3 separate regions of the Homo sapiens genome follow, and regions 1 and 3 are each linked to region 2. Evidence: promoter capture Hi-C in human tissues and cell types (Jung and others, 2019). All regions are on one chromosome and are shown on one strand. The core of a region is centred on a gene start or on the middle of the fragment in contact, and the rest is flanking DNA. Distances in the headings are between cores, read along the strand shown.

Evidence for each region. The method cuts DNA at HindIII sites, captures the fragments that hold promoters and counts their contacts. A contact is called where the count stands out against the background at its distance.
Region 1: a contact is called between the fragment with the promoter of ZNF813 here and the fragment with the promoter of ZNF841 in region 2, in 1 of the 25 tissues and cell types used here (small bowel).
Region 3: the fragment with the promoter of ZNF665 here is called in contact with the fragment with the promoter of ZNF841 in region 2 in 1 of the 25 tissues and cell types used here (pancreas).

Annotation. Positions count from the first base shown.
Region 1 is chr19:53,466,462-53,469,161 of GRCh38, forward strand. It overlaps ZNF813 (zinc finger protein 813), which reads left to right and starts at 1,272. Exons shown (of 4, transcript NM_001004301.4): 1 at 1,272-1,328. RefSeq lists a silencer at 1,116-1,245 and enhancers at 1,316-1,555, 1,492-2,053, 2,054-2,616. The HindIII fragment of the contact is 7,979 bases long and covers 1-2,700 here.
Region 2 is chr19:52,094,356-52,097,055 of GRCh38, forward strand. It overlaps ZNF841 (zinc finger protein 841), which reads right to left and starts at 1,410. Exons shown (of 7, transcript NM_001136499.2): 1 at 1,220-1,410. The HindIII fragment of the contact is 12,551 bases long and covers 1-2,700 here.
Region 3 is chr19:53,192,018-53,194,717 of GRCh38, forward strand. ZNF665 (zinc finger protein 665) reads right to left here and starts at 1,341. Exons shown (of 4, transcript NM_024733.5): 1 at 1,295-1,341. RefSeq lists an enhancer at 1,157-1,306. The HindIII fragment of the contact is 23,654 bases long and covers 1-2,700 here.

The DNA of each region.
Region 1 (2,700 bases), core at 22-2,521, 1.4 Mb after region 2:
TTGTATAGAACAGTGAAGTTTCTTTCTCTCTTTTCAACCTCTTAGCTGTTTGTCTATTTCGCATCATAATCTGGCCTAAGGCTTATTTATTAATGAAATGGTTTTAATTTCTTTCTCTATTGTCGTCGTGGAGATGATTTCTCATTGGGGGGAAGACTTTTTGTTTGTTTTCAATTATGTTTTCTCAACAATTGGAAAGTGAAGTAAAAAGTATTTGTTGGGCCAGGTGCAGTGGCTCACGCCTGTAATGCCAGCACTTTGGGAGGCCGAGGCAGGCGGATCACTTGAAGTCAAGAGTTTGAGACCAGCCTGGCCAACATGGTGAAACCCGTCTACAAAAATACAAAAATTAGCCAGGCATGGTGGCACGCGAATGTAATGGCAGGTACTCCGGAGGCTGAGGCAGGGGAATCGCTTGAACCCAAGAGGGAAGAGGCTGCAGTGAACCGAGATCCCGTTACTGCCCTCTAGCCTGGGCGACAGAGAAATACTCTGTCTCAAAAGAAATAAGTAAATAAATAAAGTAATAAATCTCTTCCACAAACGTGCTGAGACAACTAACTGAATATCCAGATGGAAAAGAATACTGTTGGATCCCTATCTCACACAATCAAAATTGTATTTTAAAACATTAAAAAAAAAAAAGGAAAAAAAGAGACGAGGAAGGAAGCGCTGCGGGAGGGGGTGTTACTTTGTCGCTCAGGCTGGCCTGGACCCCCAGGCTCAGCGATCCTCCCGCCGCTGCTTCCTGAGTAGCTGGGACCTCAGGCTCCTGCCCCCGCGCGCGCATCCCTCCCACCCCGGCGCCCCATCCAGCAGGTGGTCACCTCACTCCTCCCTGGCCTGAGCACTCCGTCCCGCATCCATGGCGGTGGCTTTAGGGAAATCTCTGAAGTTGAGCACGGGGTGGACTTGCCCTCCTGAGTGAATGGAGAATAGAAAGGGGGAGGATTTCTATTTTGTTTTGTGGGCCGTCAGCATGAAATCGTACCTTCCGCCCAGGCAGGGCTTTGCATTTCACATTCTAGTTTGCATCCCCGTTCCAGACAATTCCAGGGCTTTTGAATAGTGCCTCAACCTTACTGGCCGGTCTCGACTCCAAAACCCTAAAACAGGCGCTGGAGCGAGGGTGACGGACTCACAGGTCCCACCCCGGCCCCGCCCTCTGCGCCTTCCAAAGGGCAAAGTCTCTCCGCCTCTCGCCCCGCCCCTGCTTCGTCAGGCCCCGCCCACCTCCCAGGTCCCGCCCAGGCCTGGCTTCTGTCCTGCGCGCAGATTCGCGAAAACCCGGAAGCGGATCGCGTGGAGTGACGGTCCCACGGCAGCGCGTGAGTTTGGCTCTGTGTTGTATTAGGTCTGCACTTCCCAGGTCCCTGGCGCTTCTGTACCTGGGGCGTGGGGTCCCCACAAACCTGGAAATTCTCAGCCGTCTTCCTTCACCCAGAGCAAATTGAGACGACCCCGTGAGAGTCCGGGGGTCGCTTCCTTTTGTGTTTAAGGTCGCCCTGAGGCTGGTCCCGTCCCGGGTCTTTCTGCTATAGGGCAATGTATACACTTTCTATCGCGCATTTTTCCTGCTCTAAACCTTTCTCTGACTCCTCCCACCCCGCGCTTTTTGAAGTCCTCACCCAAGGGGTGGATTCTCGCCCACTTCGGCCGGTGGAGCGCAGAACCGCGGCCCCAGTCCCGGGAAGGCCGCGTCCTCTGTCTGGTCCCGGGATCCTGCAGACCCCACCCTTGTCTTAAGGCGCCCTCGCGCCCCCCCCCCCCCACCTCCCTCCTCCTGCCGGGCCCTGCTGCTTCCTAGGTCTCCCCTCCGCAGTCACGGCTTCCCCTGAGCCCACGTTGGGGAGGTGCCCGGGGCTTGTCCTGTTGAAGGAGGCCAGCCCTTCCACACCTGTGGGTATTTCTCGTCAGGTGGGAAGAGAGACTGAGAAAAGAAATAAGACACAAAGACAAAGTATAGAGAAAGGACAGTGGGCCCAGGGGACCGGCGCTCAGCATACGGAGGACCGGCACCAGTGCCAGCCTCTGAGTTCCCTCAGTATTTATTGATCATTATTTTTACTGTCCTAGTGAGGGGAGTGTAGCAGGGCAACAGGTGGGGAGAGGTCAGCAAGAAAACATGTGAGCAAAGGAATCTATATCATGAATAAGTTCAAGGAAAGGTACTGTGCCCAGATGTGCACGTAGGCTAGATTTATGTTTCTCTTCACCCAAACATCTCAGTGTAGCAAAGAGTCACAGAGCAGTATTGCTGCCAGCATATCTCGCCTCCAGCCACAGGGCGGTTTTCTCCTATCTCAGAATAGAACGAATGGAAATGGTCAGCTTTACACCTAGACATTCCATTCCCAGGGACCAGCAGGAGACAGAAGTCTTCCTCTTATCTCAACTGCAAAGAGGCCTTCCTCTTTCACTACTCCTCCTCAGCACAGACTCTTTACGGGTGTCCGGCTGGGGGATGTAAGGTCTTTCCTTTCCCACGAGGCCATATCTCAGGCTGTCTCAGTGGGGGGAAACTTGGACAATACCCAGGCTTTCTAGGGCAGAGGTCCCTGCGGCTTTCCGCAGTGCATTGTGTCCCTGGTTAACTGAGAATGGAGAATGGCGATGACTTTTACCAAGCATACTGCCTGCAAACATATTGTTAACAAGGCACACCCTGCACAGCCCTAAATCCATTAAACCTTGATTCAA
Region 2 (2,700 bases), core at 160-2,659:
CTCCCGCTTTCTTCACGGCTATGTGTTTCCCTCTCTCATTCTGAGCGTCTTTTTTTTCTCCTTTTCTGTTTTGCACCCCTTTCTTTATTCCCTCTTTTATGTCTGTTCTGCCCAATGCTCTGCAACTTACTTCACCTCTCGTAGCTCTTTCTCCCCAATCTTTCCGATTGTCCCCAATCTCCACGTATTTCTGCCTCTTTTCCCCCATCTAAGCTCCCTCTCTGCTCTCCTTGTTAAATTCCCTCTTCCCTGTTACATCTCCTTTGTTCCCACTCTCTAGCACCCCCAATTTCCTAGGCTTACTCCCTGCTGTGGTTCTCCCTCTACTCTGCTTGTCACCCACTGCCCTCTCTCCCTCTCTTTCAGTCCCAGCACCACGTAGCTCTGTCAGCCGCGGCTCCAACTCTTTCACCTTCTCCCCACTGTCTGTCTGTCTGCAGTGCCTCCTCCTTTGCCGCCCCACTCTATTTTGCTGCCCTTCATCTCTCTGAAGGTCCCCTTTTTTTCTAAATTTCTCTGTGTGCTTTTCTCCCCCTGCTACTTTTTCCATCCGTTCTCTTTCACTCTTGCTCTCTTTGCAAGTCCCTAAAGTATCATCCATTTTGCCGTGTATTTATGGGTCTCCCTCATTCTTTTCTCCTCAGTTTTTCCTTTTGCTCCGTCGTTCCCCGTCTTTTCCTCTCCTGATCCCTCTCACCCACACATTCGGGAGGAAAGGGGAGGAATAGGATGCCCACCTCCCGGAAGAGCACATTTTCCAGTGGAGTAAAATTTGGGAAGGAAGAACACTGGGTGTCACAAGACAGACTCAGGTAACCTGTCCCAACGGGGAGTCAAGAAAAGCAGTGGCTGTGAAGGGGAAGCCTGGGGAGCGGAAGGACCCGGCGTGAGGACGACACGAGGTGGCGCGGAGAACGATGTCTCACGACAGGGAGGGTCTGCAGAATCCCAGGACGTGGGAGGAGAAGCGGCTCCTTCAGGAGCCGGACAGTGGGCGCTCCCCTCCAGGGGCAGACGACGGAGGAGCTCGGGGATCGCGAAGGGCGCTAGTCCACATCCCGAATGAGGACTCGACTTGGCGCGGGGCCCAAGCAGAGGGTTTTAAGCGGGAACACTACCTGAATGGGGTTGTCTACATGGTCCTAAGGAAGAAAGGCAGAGAGCAAGGAACGGCCTCAGAGAGATTTTAAACCGAAAGGGAAGCAATTCTCCTACTTACTTGGGACGAAGGGGCTGTTGCGGGTATTTTAAGGTCCGTAGCGATCCCCAGGTCACGGGTATGGAGAACCGAGGACTGCGAAGTGCACGTTTAATCAAGGTAGACGAAGAGAAGCAAACGTTTAATCCAGGTAGACTGAAACACACTCATAGCGACGTGGCCTTTCCCCAGCGCGATCTGCTTCCGGGTGTGCAGGAAACTGGGCGCGGAAAGAAAAACTGGGCGGCCTGGGGGCGGGGCCTAGGCGGGGCGCGACTAGGAAAGGGCTGGGCGGAAAGACTGGCCTGACTTGGGAGTGGCCCGAAAGGGTGGTGGGAGGCCCAGGGCGGTAGGGGGCGTGACTAGGTGGGGCTTGGCTGGACCGAAAACTGGGATGAAGCGGGGCCTCCAGGGGTGGGCGGGGCCGAGGCGGGGCCTGTTCTCCACTCCGCCTCTCACCCAGCAGGATTTTGTTTTCCAGGTTTGGGAGTATTTGTGACTATTTCTTGTCCTGTGAAGCAGCGTTGCTCCTTGCCCATTTTAAATTAATGTTTCAGAATTTAAGGTTGAATCTTAAAGTTGTGGTCCACTTATACTGGAAACTAAGATGATTTATTCTTAACAAGTTGAACTGATTTAAGTCAAAACCGATTTTTCCGAGCCTGGTGGACTCCATCCAGTCTTACCAGAAAAGCTGAAGCTACTCAGTAGTCAGGGAACTGGGATCTCGGTGGGGATTGGATGTGGAGCAGTGACTGGATCCAGGAACCCAGAAGACATTATGCCAAGCGAAATGTGCTAGACACAGTGTAGAAAATGAAATAAGTAGAGGTTCCTCTTCAAAGGGACTTTCCTCCCAGTCTAATTGAGAATAGATAGTAACCTCTCTTAGAAGCAAAATTTACTCAAAGACCTGTGCTAATATTCTTAAATATCTGCTAGCCATAATAGATAAATCAATATACTCTGTGTTCTTAGCTCCCACATTTTAGCCTAGATATTTGCCCTGGCATGCCTGAATTGTTCCAAGCAAGCATTAGGTCACAGCCTATTCCTCTTCCTTATTTGGAAGTGTTTTTGCCTCTCTCAGCCTTCCACAAGTTACTTCCTCTCTTCCTTTGTTCTCCTCTGCCTTTGCCTCTTTTGGGAAGTTCTAAGGTGCTAGCCAATCAGGTCAAGCACAGAATTGGGTCCGATTCCAGCCAATGGAAACCAGACACAGCAGTAGGGTGGACGCGTCAGGTTATTATTATTATTATTTTTTTTGAGACGGAGTCTCGTTCTTTCGCCCAGGCCGGAGTGCAGTGGCGCTATCTCGGCTCACTGCAAGCTCTGCCTCCTGGGTTCACGCCATTCTCCTGCCTCAGCCTCCCGAGTAGCTGGGACTAGAGGCACCTGCCACTGCGCCCAGCTAATTTTTTGTATTTTTAGTAGAGACGGGGTTTCACTGCGTTAGCCAGGATGGTCTCGATCTCCTGACCTCGTGATCCGCCCACCTCGGC
Region 3 (2,700 bases), core at 91-2,590, 1.1 Mb after region 2:
TTTCTTTTCTGTGTTTCAGCCTGGGTCTCTGCTCCTCATTTTGAGCCCCTCTCTTCTCCTGCTGTTTCTCCTTCCCTCTATCCTTCTCTTCCACTTGTTCTGTTCCATTCTTGCAACTTGTTTCACCTCTTATTCCTCTTTCACCCGTCTTTTGGTTGTCCCCAATCTCCATCTATTTCTGCCTCTTTCTTCCCTTATCTCTGCTCTCCCTGTTAAATCCCCTCTTCCCTGTTTCACTTCCTTGTCCCCACTCTTTGGCACCCCCAGATCCCAGGTCTCCCCCTGCTGTGGTTCTCCCTCTGCTCTCCTTGTCACCAGCTGCCCCTTCTTGCTGTCCCAGCACCACGCTGCTCTGTCTATCCTGGCTCCAAATACCCCCTCCTCTCCCTAACTCTCCGTCTGAGGAGCTGCCCCTCTCCCTACCTTGCTGTCCTTCATCTCTCTAGACAGCGAGCTTTTCTCTACATTTCTCCAGTTGTTTCTCCATCCTGTTACTTTCTCAGCGACTTCTTTCACCCTTACTGTCTCTTTGTAAATCCTGACCCATCCTCTACTTTGCCATGTTTACTGGTTTCCCTCATTCTTTCCTCTGTCTCCGTTTTTCTACTTTTCTCTCAGCCCCCCTCTCTGTCTCCTGATCCCCTTGGCCCACACATTCACAGGGAGGGTTTGGAGTAAGACACCTGGATCCTGGAGGAGCACATTTTCCAGCGGGTGGAGCTGGGCAGGCAAGAACACCGGGTATCACAGGACAAGGCCCGGGCACCTCCCCAACGCGGGCTCAGGGGAAACGGTGACTGCGAAGGGGAGGCCTAGGGAGCAGCAGGGCCCGGCACGAGGAGGAGGGAGGTGGGGGGCGACGGCGCCTTAGGAGAGGGGTGGGGTATGCAGGATCCCAGGACCAGGCAGAGGCGCGGCCTCCCCGGGACTGGGGCTGCGGCGCTAACGCTCCAGTAGCTGACTAGGGCGAGGTTAGGGGACGGTAAAATCCTGCACCCACTTCGCAGATGAGGACTTCACAGGGCGCAGGTCAGTAAAGGGTTTTAAGCAGGAAACGGCGCAGGAAAGGAGGTGTCTGCATGGTCTGAAGGCCGAAAGACCGCGGGCAGGACCAGCCTGTGTGATTTTAACCCAAAGCGATGCGACCCCCAGAGTCTCGCGGCAAAGTCTGAATTTACATGGAATGGAGGGAGCCGTGCGGGGACTTTAAGGGCTATACGAACCCCCGGACATCGGGTACGGAGGAGCAGGGGACTCCGAAACGCAGGTTTAATCTAGATAGAGGGAAACTCACGCGGCGACTAACAGCCTTCACTCCAAGAGATCTGCTTCCGGGTTTGCAAGAAACTGCCCGCGCAGTAGGCAAAGGGGCGGGTTGCGGTGGGGAAAGGCCAGGCGTTGGGAGGGACTGAGAGCATAGGGTGGGCGGGGCCGGGGCGGGGCCTGAACCCTGGAGGCGGAGGTTGCAATGAGCCGATATCGCGCCATTGCACTCCAGCCTGGGTGACAGAGTGAGACTTCGTCTCTCCCAAAAAAAAAAAAAAACAAAACTTAGGCTATCTAAAAGTTTAACCAATGGCCAGTAATATAAGCAATCATGCATATGTAATGAAGGCGCCATAACAACCCAAAAGGAGAGGATTCAGCGGAGCTTCTGGATAGGTGAACACTGGGAGGCTCCTGCAGCGTGGTGCACCCAGGGAGGGCACCAAGGCTCAACGCCCCTTCTCCCATGCCTCACCTCACTGATCCCTTCCATCTGGCTGTTCTTCTGTCAACTTTGTAATATCCTTTATAATACGTAAATCTATGTAAAGTGTTTCCCTGTATTTTGTGAGCCACTCTAGCAAATTCGTTGAACCTGAGGAGGGGGTCAAGGGACTCCTGGATTTATATCTGATCTGTAAGCACAAGTCACAACCTCTGCTTGAGACTGGCATTGAAATGTGTGCACTATTGTGGGACTGAGCCCTCAACGTGTGGGATCTGATGCCATGTCCCGGCAAAATGGAACGGAATGAGAGAACACGCACCTGGTGTCTGTGGCAGGATTGCTTGCTTGGTGTGTGTGGGAAAACCCAGTACCTCTGGGCTAACTGTAGCATTCTGTGTTGTGAGAGAACAGTAGAAGAAACTGAATCAGTGTTTCCTATATTCTTAAATACGAATATGTGAGGTTTGTTGTTGTTTTTTTTTTTTTTTTTTTTTTTTTAGACAAGAGTCTTGCTCTTGTCGCCCAGGCTGGAATGCAATGGCATGATCTCGGCTCACTGAGCCACCGCCCCAGCGTGAAGGCATTTTTGAGCAAGTTATGTCTCCCTAATTCTGTTTTATTGTACTTTTCCCTAAGTAGTTATAATAGCCTCTAAATCTGTGTGGAGTTTTCAGTTTTGTGGACAATACAATAAATAGACAAATAAAAACCCAAACACAAGCTGATCTCTATAGAAGTGTTAGATATTATTTTCAACACACTAAGTGATACTCCGTATCTAGATAAGCTAAAGCACGAATGATGTCTTCTGAGGTGACAAGGTCCACAGTGGCTTTACAGAAACACTGGCCAGAAGTAAAAACTGTGATGATAATGGCAATAGCAATGACTGACTTTTCTGAACACTATGTGCAAGGCATTATTCGGAATACTTTACCTGTATTAACTCAAATAACAACATAATAGCCCATGAGAAAAAGATCTTT